Regions from separate parts of the Homo sapiens genome. Here regions 2, 3, 4 and 5 are each linked to region 1. The links are contacts of gene promoters, found by promoter capture Hi-C in blood cells and fetal thymus (Javierre and others, 2016). All regions are on one chromosome and are shown on one strand. The core of a region is centred on a gene start or on the middle of the fragment in contact, and the rest is flanking DNA. Distances in the headings are between cores, read along the strand shown.

Evidence for each region. Contacts are between HindIII fragments. The CHiCAGO score rates a contact against its expected background, and 5 or more counts as called.
Region 2: a contact is called between a fragment that was not itself captured here and the fragment with the promoter of TRAF6 in region 1, in 2 of 17 cell types (naive B cells and total B cells). The highest score is 6.2, in naive B cells.
Region 3: a fragment that was not itself captured here is called in contact with the fragment with the promoter of TRAF6 in region 1 in 4 of 17 cell types (total CD4 T cells, total CD8 T cells, naive CD8 T cells and 1 more); the score reaches 8.2 in total CD4 T cells.
Region 4: a contact is called between a fragment that was not itself captured here and the fragment with the promoter of TRAF6 in region 1, in 3 of 17 cell types (total B cells, non-activated CD4 T cells and naive CD8 T cells). The highest score is 7.2, in total B cells.
Region 5: a fragment that was not itself captured here is called in contact with the fragment with the promoter of TRAF6 in region 1 in 8 of 17 cell types (non-activated CD4 T cells, activated CD4 T cells, total CD4 T cells and 5 more); the score reaches 9.8 in non-activated CD4 T cells.

What each region holds. Positions count from the first base shown.
Region 1 is chr11:36,508,913-36,511,612 of GRCh38, forward strand. TRAF6 (TNF receptor associated factor 6) reads right to left here and starts at 1,360. Exons shown (of 7, transcript NM_004620.4): 1 at 1,136-1,360. It also overlaps a transcript of RAG1 not described here. RefSeq lists an enhancer at 1,179-1,228. The HindIII fragment of the contact is 10,105 bases long and covers 1-2,700 here.
Region 2 is chr11:35,712,106-35,714,805 of GRCh38, forward strand. The region is part of intron 2 of TRIM44 (tripartite motif containing 44); the gene reads left to right. Among named protein-coding and RNA genes, the nearest start is that of TRIM44, 51 kb to the left of the region's middle. The HindIII fragment of the contact is 1,443 bases long and covers 597-2,039 here.
Region 3 is chr11:35,686,149-35,688,848 of GRCh38, forward strand. The region is part of intron 2 of TRIM44 (tripartite motif containing 44); the gene reads left to right. Among named protein-coding and RNA genes, the nearest start is that of TRIM44, 25 kb to the left of the region's middle. The HindIII fragment of the contact is 210 bases long and covers 1,333-1,542 here.
Region 4 is chr11:35,629,308-35,632,115 of GRCh38, forward strand. No RefSeq gene overlaps it. Among named protein-coding and RNA genes, the nearest start is that of FJX1, 12 kb to the left of the region's middle. RefSeq lists an enhancer at 97-1,296. The HindIII fragment of the contact is 4,468 bases long and covers 1-2,808 here.
Region 5 is chr11:35,647,195-35,650,104 of GRCh38, forward strand. No RefSeq gene overlaps it. Among named protein-coding and RNA genes, the nearest start is that of TRIM44, 14 kb to the right of the region's middle. The HindIII fragment of the contact is 824 bases long and covers 856-1,679 here.

The DNA of each region.
Region 1 (2,700 bases), core at 110-2,609:
CACAGAGAAGAGCTCATGTTACAATTCTGAAATATTGTGGTGCATGCAGGCTGAAACTCTGATGTGATCCTGTACCCACCACATGCCGGACTCCTTCCTAGAGTCACAAAAGAGGCCACATTGTTCCTGCCTATACACTCAACCTCAAAATTTGAAAAGCCCCTCTCCCTTCCCTAGTAATCAAAGGAGAATGAATGAAATGATAGCGGCCAAGTTCACAAGGCCAACACAGAATTTCTTTACCAGTTTTTCTCGTTTCTACATGGAACCTGTGTAACAAGACATTCAGTAATAGTAATCTGCTCTCAGAGAAAGAAACAATTAAATACCATACAGCGAAGCTGCTAATACTTTATTTAGGTGCTTTCTGTTCACATTCAAGACAGTCCTAACTCAGCTGGAGTTCCCCTTAAGCCAAATACTAGGAACAGCTTTATCAACCCGGCGTCTGGAACAATCGCTCGAACTACCGAGTTTAGGGGCGGGGGAGAAAACATTCGTGTCATCTGAGCCTTTTTTTTTTTTTAAACTCGCTGCCTGAGACTTCTATAGAGTTCAACAGGGAATCCAAAAATAGCTTTCCCATGACAGTGACAGCCGGAGTCGCCAGGAACGTAAAGGATTTTTTAAAAATTTAAGCAGGTGTTTGCTCCAAGGAGCGGACAACTGCAGGAGGCAATTTCCTTATCTGGGAAGGGGAAAAAGCGGAGTTGAGGGGAGCGAGGTTGAGTAAGGCGACGCGGGGTTTTTTAGGGGGTGGAATGAGCGAGGAAGAGGAGGCCTGGGGAGCAGAGGTCAGGGGACAGGGAACGGTGTCCCCGACCTGTGGGAAGCGTGGGGACAGAGGCTGCGTCCCGACCTGCAGGAAGCGAGGGGCAGGGAACGGTGTCCTCGACCAGCGGGAAGCGAGAGGACAGGGGCGGCGTCCCCGACCCGTGGGAAGCAAGCGGGTAGGGGCGGCGTCCCTGACCTGTGAAAAGCGAAGGGACAGGGGAGGCGTCCCCGACTGGTGGGAAGCGAGGGGACAGGGACTGCGTCCCCGACCTGCCGAGAGCGAAGGGGCGGGGGGCGGCGTCCCTGACCGCTGGGAAGCGAGGCGGCGGCCGCCAGGAGGAGGCGCCTGAAGGAGACTCACCGTTCTAGTGCGCGGGGAGGCCGAACCAGGAGGGCAGGGCTCCCCCACCAACCGCACGACTCCGCTCAGCCAAGGCGCTGGTAGAGGACGGACACAGACACTGCGCGCCGAGACGAGGCTGCTTGGACGGCAAACTCTGGATCCAGTGGGAGCCTTCGCCACCTTCGCTGGCCGCCCGCAGGCCAAGCCCCAGCTGCGGACGCCACTGCTTCCGCCTTCTCTGCTGGCTGCGGGGAGCGAGGGGCAGGGAGCGCGCCGGGGAGGAGACAGAGCGGCCGAGTTCGGAGAGAGTGCCCCCTGGCGGTGATCCTCCAGGCGGACTGTGGCGCGGGCCGGGCGGCGCCCCCAGCCCCGCAGCCTGGCTTTCTTCCTGCTCGGGTGTCCCACCTGGGAATTCGTTGCACCGCACAGCCGAACCCGAGTGTGTCAATGGGTGTGTGTTGGAATGAGGATGGCGACGAGAAGATCCCTCCCGGAATAACTTAATTTGGTGAGCAGTGGCGACAGTAGTAATCCCAAACTGCGCTTTTATAGCACCCCTCTCCAAGCAGGAGAAAACCCCAGCTGGGCTAGATCGCTTGACCTTCAGGAATTCTTAAACCCCTCCCCAGCTCCACCCTCCTTGCCCAGGAAGTTTCTGCGATCCATAGAACCCTCTATTATTACCTGCTCTTCCCCTTCATCCGGTCCAAGGGAGTCAGCCCTTGCCTTAAATATTTCTTTGAATTTCCTGCCAAGAACACCAGCGCTTTGTCTTTCTCTGTCATGGGAAAACTATTTTAAATTCCCTGTTTAACTGGTCATAAACGTCTAGAGAATGTACCACGCGTTTTGCTGGAGAAGCACAAAAGAGTTTCATCCACCTCTGCATATTTGGTTCATCGTCCACCTCTTAGGGGAGGTTTTCCAGGATAGTAGTCATGCGTATGTATCCTGAAGCCAGAATGCTTGGTTCCAATCCGGTTTTTCCTACAATAAATGTGTGATTCAGGTAAAATACTTAATCTGTACTTGTTTCAGTTTTCTCATCTCGTATTAACATGGGGATAATAATAGTATCTACCTCACAGGGTTGTTGGAAGGATGAGATAAAATATGTAAAGAAATTATTTAAAACTATCTGGCCAGGCACAAATAGGCTCATGCCTATAATCCCAGTACTTTGGGAGGCTAAGGCAGGAGGATCACTTGAGGCCAGGAATTTGAGACCAGCCTGGGCAACATAGTGAGACCCCATCTTTACACAAAATTTAAAAATTACCTGGGTGTGGTGGTGCATATCTGTAGTCTCGGCTACTCTGGAGGCTGAGGTGGGAGGATGGCTTGAGCCCTGGCAGTCAAGGCTACAGTAAGCCATGATTGCACCACTGCATTCCAGCCTGGGTGACAGAGTGAGACCCTGTCTCAAGGAACAAACGAACAAACAAATAAACCCAAAACTAGGACATAGTATGGGCTCAATAAATGTTACCAATACTATATGTCCTACTTTCTGGCTGCCAATATTCATTAAAAATGCTTCTCTTTTTAAGAAGAATTTATCACTGGTTCTCAGGTTCTGTCAA
Region 2 (2,700 bases), core at 68-2,567, 800 kb before region 1:
TTGCCTGGCTGCAGAGTAACTGGCAGTAGTTCAGCATAGGTCTGTTGCCTGTTCAAGTCAAAGCAAATGTATCTGCCTTGGGAGTGTGTAGTTGTGTGTCCATATATTCCCAATAGAAAGAAGAAATCAATGCATTGAAGCAAGTATGTTTATTGTTATGAAGCAGACTCCCTAGTTAGCAGAACTGCTTGGTGCCCAACTATAAGAAAAATAAAGAAGTTATTTTAGGAATAACTTTACTTAAAGTTATTTAAGAAACACATTAGGAAATATATTCCCACTTTAAAGTAAACGCTACTGAGATTCTTCACTCCCTACCTCCTCTTCTCCCTTCCCCTGCAGCTTTACCTTATCCTTCTCTTTCTTACTGGAGCCCCAGACCTCCTAATTGAACCACAGCACCAATAGATTATAGTCATTTAAAAACTAAGGTGGGCATGGTTTCCAAGCTGCCTGGTGGACTGGAGCATTGTTACAAAGCAGAGGGATTGAGCTTTAAATGGCTTAATAAAATTAACACTTTGTGATGTCTTCTTCCTCCTGCTCCAGCTCCTCTCTGCACTGACAGGAGACTTGATAGTATACTCTTTGCCAAAAGCTTGAAGGGCTGATTACACAGCGAACCTGGAGAGAGGAGTGAAGCTGTCAGGACTCCCCCATAGCAGCCACGCTTCAGGTTTCCAGTGCAGGATTGTATTTGACAGTTAATTTAGGAGCCGGGGTACCTAGATATAAAACTTTATTGTGATAATAGTGATAAAATCACCCAGACTTTTATTTAAGGGCCTGCTGCTCTCCTGTCCCCCTCCTTCCTCTTTCCCTGTTAGTTCAAGCTCTCATTCAGTTAAAGAAATAAAATCAGATTTGCTCAGGGAAAAAGGTGTTTTCTTTGATATTCTTAGACCAAACCTGCAGAATGCAACTCTCGGTCTACCTCAGATCTATATGTAGATGCTTATACATATATATAAATATAAAATTTGAGAACAGTGCCTCTCTCCTGATTGACTGCATTTAGCCAAAGGGCAGAATTTATCAGGTCTTTACACCTACGAAGAGACATTTCATTCAACCCAGTGATTCAGCTGATGTTCATCCCCTTGTTTAATGACTTTTGTTTACCTCTGCAGCAGGCAAAATAGATTCTACCATGTCTCCCTACTTCCTAACTCAGCCCATTTATTTAGACATTATGATCCCCTTTTATAAATGAAGAAACAAAGATTTAAGAGGTTAAGTGACTTGTTCACGAGGCTAAAGATGCTAGTAAGTTGCCTTTCTATGACTTCTATATAGAAGTTATTAACTTTTGCCTATAGAAGATGTATTGAGAATGGTATTCCAATGTAGTATTTGTTCAGACTTAAGGGTAAAAGTTTACATTGAATATGACATGCTTTTTTTTTTTTTTTGGTGAAAGAGCACAAATATTGGAGTCAGATGACATGAGTCCATATATTTCAGTTTTATCTATAAAGGAGGACTAATCATACTATATTTTTATTAATGAAGATCCTGAAAATGAAAACTTGTGAGGAGATAAGAAACAGTGGAAGATGATTTTGGGGACTTAAATGTATGTTAGCAACTGTAGTTAGTTTAAGAGCACTGTGGTTCTTGGGTAAGCAGGTTGTTAGCTCCTTAAGGGAGTAGAGTAGGGTTTCAGTCTACAAAGAAGAGAAAATACCATGAGAGGCAAGTTGTGAGATTGAGGAGCCAACTACGCCCATAGACTGACTTTGTGTAGGTACAGAGGAACAGAATGTGACCCATCCTTCCTGTGCTTTCTGTACTTTGCTTCTGTATCATTGAAGTAGACTGACCCTGAGATGTTGGGCAGTCAGATCTGATCAAATCAGAAAAGGCAGCCATTGCTCCTTGACACCTTGTGGCCATTTATTTGAAACTGAGGCAAGGAGCCTCAGTATTGATATCTTTACTTTTCAATGCCTAGGATGAGTAGGAAAGTCTTTTAGATGTTCCCTTGGGAAATTAGATCTAAACTCCCAAGGGCATAGGCTCCCTCTTTTCTTTAGGAAAGCTTATTGGGGACTCTTCTTCTGTGAGAGCTCAGTAGATACCATATGGGAGGCACACAATAAAAGTTCACAGTTACTATTATCTCTAATGAGCAGAATGGTTCTGCTGATGGTTCTGTGTGCCCGGAGAGCCCTAAGTGCTTTCCATGTATTATTTTGTGTTAAGTTTAGAAAAATATCTATGAGAATGTTATTATTACCCTCATTTTACAAAGAAACTTTTTATGGAGAAATTTTCACCTTTCTGAGCTTCAGAAGCATGGAGTTAGCAGAACCAGTCCTCAAACCCCTTTCTCTACTCTATCAAAGTCCATATGCTGTACCGTTGTGACCCTATGTAGGAAAGAAGACTCAGCAAACATGAGAGCTACGTCTCAGTGCCCTTTCCTGAGTATTTGTGGCAGTATGCAGTTGTTTTGGTGTTGTGTTTTAATAAAATACAAATAACTGTGGCTTTATAGGGAAACTGCTTGAGAGAACTGGAATGGAGATTGAGTCTTATTTTAAAATTGCTTTAATCTTCAGATAAAATAGGCTTTCTTTGTATATTCAAGTCTAACTTATTTTAAGTCAAGACTTAAAAATAGTATAAATTCTGTATAGTTGCCCCTCAAACTTTCAGTGTCACTTTCCACCTCCCACTTCTACACGATAGTTCCCG
Region 3 (2,700 bases), core at 188-2,687, 820 kb before region 1:
TCAATATGTTAGGGTCTAGAGGATTGATATTCTGGGAGACACCATAACGGGGTGGAGGTAAACGGAACTGAACAGACTTCCTTCTCCTTCCTACCCAGACACTTACTGTGGCACTACCTGGTATTGGGGCCAGCTGGCTTTGCCTTAGAATCAAAGTTTCTCACAATTAAATAGGGAAAGGCGCATGATTTTATTTTACTGTAGGTTCTTTTTGTTTTTGTTTTTGTTTTTTTTTTTTTTAAGAGGAATGGGACTAGCATTTCTTGAGTATCTACTGAGAGTCAGGCACTTTGCTAGGACTCTTACATGATTGTACTAAAATATACATACAAAATTTTAACCATTTTTGAGTGTACAGTTCAATGGCATTAAGTACATTCACTTTGGTTTTTTGTTTGTTTGTTTGTTTTTGTTTTTTGTTTTTTTGAGACGGAATCTCGCTCTGATGCCCAGGTTGGAGTGCAGTGGCATGATCTCGGCTCAGTGCAACCTCTCCCTCCCAGGTTCAAGTGATTCTCCTGCCTCAGCCGCCTGAGTGGCTGAGACTACAGGCACATGCCACCACACCCAGCTAACTTTTTGTGTTTTTACTAGCGACAGAGTTTCACCATGTTGGCCAGGCTGGTTTCGAACTCCTGACCTCAAGTGATCTGCCCGCCTCAGTCTCCCAAAGTGCTGGGATTATGGGCGTGAGCCACCACACCTGGCCACACTTTGTTGTGCAGCCATCATCACTGTCCATCTCTAGAGCTTTTTTACTATCCCAAACTGAAATTCGGTACCCATTAAATGCTAACTTCTCATTCCTGCTCTCCCCTTAAATACTTTTAATTATTTAACAACACTGTAAAGTAGCATTTTCTTCCTACTTTATTGATAAGAACACTGAGGTTTAGAAAGGTAGAATCATCTGCCCAAATCTAATGTAATATAGATGTGGAATTCAAACTCTGACTCCAGTGCCTATACTCTTTATCTTATGTCATGCAAACCAAGCACTGGATTTTATCTCCTTTCTGCCACATGATCACATTGTGCTGCAGTTTTCTAAATTGAAACACAATATGTGGCAGAGCCATAGACTGGTGGGCTCTTCAAAAGGTGGCTGCAGCCACAAGAATAAATTTCTCTTCATATGGCAATGAAAATATCGGGGACATTGGTAAGATCTCTTGTCTTCTGGTGTAGTCAGGGTTCCAGAAGTAGAGAGTTAGGTTGGTAGATAGAAAAAATTAGAGTAACCTTTATCAACTTTCCTAGCTCAAAGTAGGAGGACCCCTGATAAAAGTTTTTCCTTTAGCTAGGATGAACCACTTATTAAAAGTTACTGAAAGCTTTTCTTACCAAGTTTCTCTGGTTTCTGGAGCAACTCCTGTTCTGCAGGAGACAACCATATTCTGATTCCGCCAAACTTATAATTAGCAGTGCAGTGAAGAGGGAGCGGATGTGTACAAATCACACTGAGTGTTCTCTGTGTATGACTATAATACAGGTAAAGTGCTTTGGGATCCTTTATGAATGCATGTAGTGCTTCTGATGGAAAGCTTGCCAGAAAGTGAAAGGTTTGAGCGGTTGCATGAGAGGAATCCCTGGAAGTGTCAGGGTTTTCTCTTGATGCATCATAAGGTAAAGGATATTTGTAAGGACCCGACTTGATCTTGGGTGTGTGTGTATACCTGCACCTCTTTTTTACGTTCTTTTTATTTTGCCCTGGATCATTTACTACCAACCTATTTTATTTTCAAGCCCCTTTTTAGTCTACCACAACCATATGCTGTATATACTTGGAGCCAGCTTGAAGAAGGGTGAACGTAATTGCAGAATGACTGCCAGGTCAGGAATGGGGGTAAAAAACAGGCCACTTAAATATATAATTTCTGCACAAAGAAGATTTTCCTAGAAATAAATTGGCATCTTCCAAGACAACCCTTAAGTTTTTGTCTGTTCTGTTTTCCCACAGAGCCCCACCATCCCCTTTTTGAGTTGGCCTATTTAAGAAGGGCAGAAATCTCTTAGGCTTTGTGACCTGTCATTTCCTGGGCACAGAGGCTTTACATAGAAGCACTGATTGAGTCATGGAGGACTGAGCACTATCTCTGCCTCACTTCCTCTAGAATTCCCTAAAGCATCACAAAGCTTGATTAGTCCAGACACTGAAGCCTATTGGGGAATGAGTTAATTTTTACCTCTTGAGTTTTGCTAGAGAGCAGTAGAAGATGTCTAAATTAATCATTTTTTTAAAATTATAAAATAATACATACTTATAGATTTAAAAATACAGATATTCATAAAGAAAAAGTAAAATCTCCCCTAAGTTAGCCACTGTTAACAGTTTAGTATGTAACCTTCTAGACATTTTTCTATGTAGTACCTTTTCAAAATTCTTTTACAAAATTATACCCATGGTTTTACAATTGCTTTTTCCTTTATGTGGAATATCTTAGATATTCTTCTGTGTCAAAAATATAGACTTGATTCTGTTTAATGAGATGCCTCATTTTATTCAAAACATTTGTCAGACATCTTCTTTTCTTCCAGACCCAGAGGTTCTTAAACTTCAGTGTACATGAAAATCACCCAGAAGACGTATTAAAATATAGAGTGCTGTGCCCACCTCCAGAGTTTTTTATTCAATTGGCCTGGGGTGGCTAGACAATGTTCATTTCTATGAAATTATCAGGTGATGCTGATGTTGCTGTT
Region 4 (2,808 bases), core at 221-2,720, 880 kb before region 1:
ACCTGAAATAATCCATAAAACAAGTTGTTGTTTGTTATTGACCTGGGAGTCAATAACAAATTCTGTTCTGTTTGCCACCAGCAAGTTTGAGATATATGCCAGGAAAATGATTAAAAGGAAAGACAAAAGGAAAAGATTGGGAACAAGGGAAAAGGGGAAGGAACGTTAAAAAGAATCACATGTGGTAGAGTGGCAAAGAAGCAGCCTTTGCCTCTGGTACAGATAGCCCTCACGTTGACCTTCAATCAGCATCAGAGCCAGCAAAATGATGCCACATTGCAGGGGAAAGAGCTAGTGCCTCTGCAGGTTACATTTAGGATTAAAGAAAGGTCAAGTTACTCCAGGGAAAATTACTTTTCATTTGCAGTCAGCATCCTGCCTGTGCTACAGCTCCCAACTATGCGAAGTCCAGCCATCACCACTTGATCTTTGGCCCCTTGACGCTGAAGAGCACATTCTGCCAACCTTTCAAAAAAGAAAGGCTTTGCCATCACACATGAATCTCAACCTTGCCCTTCCAGAGGCAGCACATTCAATTTCATTATTTAGTGAGCCTATCTCTAGTGACCTATTAGCGAAATCAAAAATGCTAATGAAAAAACAGGTTAAGCATCTTTGACTTCTCAAGGCATTGAGCTAATAAAAGATGCCCAGAAAACATTGCTGTGTGGCTCCCTTCTCCTCCACCTGTTTATAATTGGGACCCATCCAAAGTCTCTCTGCAATATAACATTCGTGACCCAACTCCACATAAGTGTCTGTCTTTTCTGATACTATGATGCTGGATGCATGACTCATGCCATAAAAATTATTGTAATGACTCTGGACTTAGCAATTCAGAAGTTGGTGCTCCATGCGAAATCCCTCGTGGGCTGTTTTCAAGTGATTACTCATGGCCCAGGTATGTGCTGCATGTATGAGTATAGTTACGTTGGTTATTAGACTATCGAAATACTTCCAGCTCAGTTGATAAATGTCTACTCTGCGGCCCCAGAGTGACTCTTCCATGTTTCTGAACAATCCCCACTACCATCCCATGATCCTGCAACTAACAGGTTAACACCTGGAGTAGCAGAGAGTTCTTGAACCAGTAACCCGGCACTAAGGCCAACAGTAAGTTCTGACTTCACCTTATGTAATTTGAATAGTATTTCCTGGGTATAAGATGTAAAGGTTCAAATCCATGGAACAACAGAGGTATCATCCTAAGCCCTATCTTTAGTTCTCCTGTTTTAAAGCCTCAATTTACTTGGCAAACAGACACTGAGCATCTGCTCATTGCATTCATGTTTCCTGGCTGCTAACTTTGGGTCAGACACTGTGTTAGGTGGTAGGAACAGGTCAGTTAACTGGAGTGATATGGTTTCTGATCTTCTGTAGTGTAGAGTCTGGTAGAGGAGACAGACATTAAGCAAATTATTACTGTAATAAATGGGATGACAGGAAAATACATGGCCCTATGAGAGTGTTAATAGGGGACAACCTCACATTGGAGGTTGAAGGATCTGGCATTTAAGCAGAGACCAGAGCAATGAGCAGAAGTCAGCCAGCATAGAGGAGAAAAGAAGGAGTGGAGAGCATTTCAATTGGAAGGAATTGCATTTGAGAGCTTGAGAGAAGGAGCTTGCTGTACAGAAATGAAAGGCTGGTATGATTGAAGAGTACTGCCCTAGAAGGGGATTGCATAGTTCGAGGCTGCAGAGGTAAGCAGGCACCTATTAAGTGCCAGGCACAGAGGGCAGGAGATGGATATATCATAATCCTCACCCCTGAGGGAGGCCCTATCTCATAGTGGTAAGGGCTGAATTACAGAGGGGGACTCTCTAGGTTCAAACCCTGGCTCCTCCATTTTCTGGCTCTGAGACCTTAGGCAGGTTACTTATGCTCTCTGACCCTGAGTTTCCTCATCTGAATATAGGAATAATAATAATAATAAGACCTACCTATTTATGAATAACACATGCAAAGTACTTACAACAATGCCCGACACATAGTAAAGACTCAGTAATTATTAGGCATTGACCACTACGACACAAGAAAGAAGTGGAAACACAGATTAAGTGGCTTCTTTTCTACTCATTTCCACCCAGTTCAAAGGTTGTTATGTGGTGATATGGTTTGGCTCTTTGTCCCCACCCAAAGTTCATGTTGAGTTGTGATCCCCAGTGTTGGAGGTGGCCTGGGGGGAGATTATTGGGTCATGGGGGTGGTTTCTAATGATTTAGCACCGTCCCCCCAGTACTCTCTAGTGACAGAGTTCTCACAGGATCTGGTTGTTTAAAAGTGTGCAGCACTTCACCCTTCGCTCTCTCCTGTTTTGCCATGGTAAGATGTGCCGCTTCCCCTTCGCCTCCTGCCATGATTGTTAGTTTCCCAAGACCTCTCAGCCATGCTTCCTGTACAGCCTGTGGAACTGTGAGCCAGTTAAACCTCTTTTCTTTATAAATTGCCCAGTCTCAGGTAGTTCTTTATAGCAGCGTGAGAATGGACTAATACATGTAGTAAAAACATTCTGTGCTTAATAATCCTACTTAAAGGCACCAACGTTGTCTGTGCTATATAGTTCATGAGAAGATTATGTAATGACTCTCCTCCCATGATCCATTCTATCAAAGGCAGTTTCCGGCTGGGCATGGTGGCTCACACCTGTAATCCTGGCACTTTGGAAGTCCTGAGTTTAGATCACATGCCCACTCTTTGGCATGATGAATATGTATGAGAGAACCATGTATGGGAGAACTAGATATAGGACTCAACGACATTAACCACAACTGGGTACTTTTCCAAAGAAAACCAGATGTTCTTGAA
Region 5 (2,910 bases), core at 18-2,517, 860 kb before region 1:
TCCTCTTTCTCAGAAGTCCCAAGAAAAATCACATTGCCTCTCTGGCTCTGCCAGAGTCCTGGCCCATCTTTGAAATAACCACTGTGGTCAGGTGAATACAGATGCTAATTGCTTAGTTCTGGGTTGTAAGTTCCTTCCTAGAATTACTCATGGAGTCAGTGTCTCTAGAACCATACAGATTCAGAGGAGTAGAAGAGGGATACTTTTGACAGCAGATAACAGACTTGCTTATTTATACGGCTGTATTATCTCACATAACAAGAAGTCCACAGGTAAGCGATCTGGGTTGGTGTCTTAATTCGTCTGTGTTGTTATAAAGAAATAACTGAGACTGGATCATTTATAAAGAGAAAATATTTATTTGGCTCATGGTTCACAGGCTGTACAAGAAGCATGGTGCCAGCATCTGCATCTGGTGAGAGCCTCAAGCTGCTTCCCCTTATGGTGGAAGATGAAGGGGAGCCTGTCACAGAGCGAGAGCAGGAAGAGGGAGGGGGAGAGAGAGAGAGGGAGAGAGAGAGAAAGAAGGAGAAGGAGAAAGAGAAAGAGAAGGAGAAAGAGGAGAAGGAAAAGGAGAAGGAGAAGGAGGAGGAGGTGACAGCCTCCTTTCCACAATCGGTTCTCAGAGGGGCAGGGCAGGAGGTAGGGGGAGACAAAATGGGAATTAATTAACTCCCTTGAGAATGGCACCAAGCCCTCCATGAAGGATCCACCCCCATAATCCAAACACCTTCCACCAAGCCCCGCCTCCAACACTGGGGATCAAATTTCAAATTTCAACATGAGACGTGGCAGGGCCAAACAAACCATATCCAAATCATAGCACTGGGTGACATAGCAGTTGGATAAATCCAAAGCTTAATAATGTCGGGGGTCTAGGTGTTTCTCTATGGTCTCTTACTCTCATGATTATAAGATGGCTTCCATAGCTTGTTCCTCACAAGATCCTAAAGCAGGAAGGAAGGGACAGGGCTTTCCTCTTGCAAGTCTCTTTCTTCTGTTTAGAAAAGGAAATCTTTTCCAGAAGTGCCCCGATGAGACTTGCCTTAATGCCTCATTAGCCAAGGCTTGGTCACATATACACCTCAAAACCTATTACTGGCAAAAGAGGTTGGGATTCTCATGATTGGCTTAGCTCTATGATGGTTCATGCTCCAGGGCTGAGGATGTTAATATCTAAATATCTGGAGAGATGAGAGTTCTGTTAGTAGGGAAGCTGGGTTTTAACCAGCTATGTGTGCCTCAGCTCCCTGAGGCAAACTGGGGAGTTGGTTACCAGAAGGAGGCTGAGGGGACACCAGGTAGAAAAAACAATGAATGTCTATTAGAACTAAACGGAGAGCAAAGACAGTTCAAGACCTGGAACATACTAGGCACTCAGTGGGGAATTCACAGAGTTCAAAAACCAAATTGAGAAGAACGGGAATTGTCTCAGAGCTTTAGGTTTAAATATGGACTGGCAGAACCAACACGGACCACACAGATTATGGTAATTGCTTTGAAAAATGGTCAGAACCATCCTTCCCATCCTGCATGCCCTTTTATAATGTAACTCTGAAAGTCTTCAGGAGGTAGAGCCCTTTCTCCCTCTTCTTGAATCTTAGTTGACCACTGACTTGCTTTGATAAATATTCTACAATGAAAGTAATATTGAATGACATCTGGACTAGGCCTTAAGAAGCTTTCAAGCTTCCATTTTCATCCTCTTGGAACCATGTAAGGAAGTTCAGGTTATCCAGCAGGAGGGACTGTGTAGAGAAAGAACTGCAGATCAAGTTTTGCTTTCTTGCATGACGCAGTGATTCCTTTCAGTTCAACTCTGAATCTTGTCAGGTCTCAAATGTGCCTTAGGGTCTATATGGATTTCAGGATGAAGACAGCGTAAACATGTTTGGATTATTCTAGCCCTAGAGGATAAGAGTTCCTCTCCCTAGGGTAGAATTGAGGTTGACAAACATAGCTGCTAAACAAGTGGGCAACACCATCTTGGATGTTGCAGCTCCAGCTGAGCACCCCTCTGAAAGCAGCTGCGTGAGTGATCCCAGCCAATACCATATAAAGCAGAAGAACTAGCCAGCTGAGCCCAGACAATCCATACCATCCTGAGAAATAATGAATCATTATTGTTTTCAGCACCTACATTTTGGAGTGGTGTGTGGCATAGCAATAGACAACCAAAACAGGAATCATCTACTTTAGCTCACTCATTTCACAGAGACTGAAGAGCCAGTGAAGTTAAAGGACTTGCTCAGAGCCACATAGCTCATTAGTGGCAGAGGCATGGCAAGAACTTAGATTTCTGCATTCTCAACCCACTGCTTGATCATTAAACCTGGCATAATGGCCGGGCACAGTGGCTCACACCTATAATCCCAGTGCTTTGGGAGGTCAGGGTGGGAGGATGGCTTGAGGCCAGGAGTTCAAGACCAGCCCCAGCAACATAGTGAGACCCTGTCTCTACAAAATAATAATAATAATTTTAAAGTTAGCCAGGTGTGGTGGCACATGCCTATAGTCCTAGCTACTCAGGGAGGCTGAGGCAGGGAGATCACTTGAGTCCAGAATTTTGAGGTTATAGTGAGCTTGCACCATTGAAGTCCAGCCTGGGTAACAGAGCAAGACTCTGTCTAAAAAAAAAAAAAAAAGAAAAAGAAAAAGAAAAAAAAAACCTGGTATAACTATTTGAATCCAGACAAAACAGGTGTACTTGTAACTTCTGCTAATGTGCATATAAAGTAATAGCTTGCACCGAATGAGTGTTTATTATTGCTTGGCACAGGGCTAAATGCATTATCTCATTTAATCCTCACAATGAGCCTATGAAGTGGGTCTGATATGACCACCCCTTCCCCATTTTACATGTATGATAATTGAAGTTAAAGAGGCTAAATAATGTGCTCAGAGTCACCC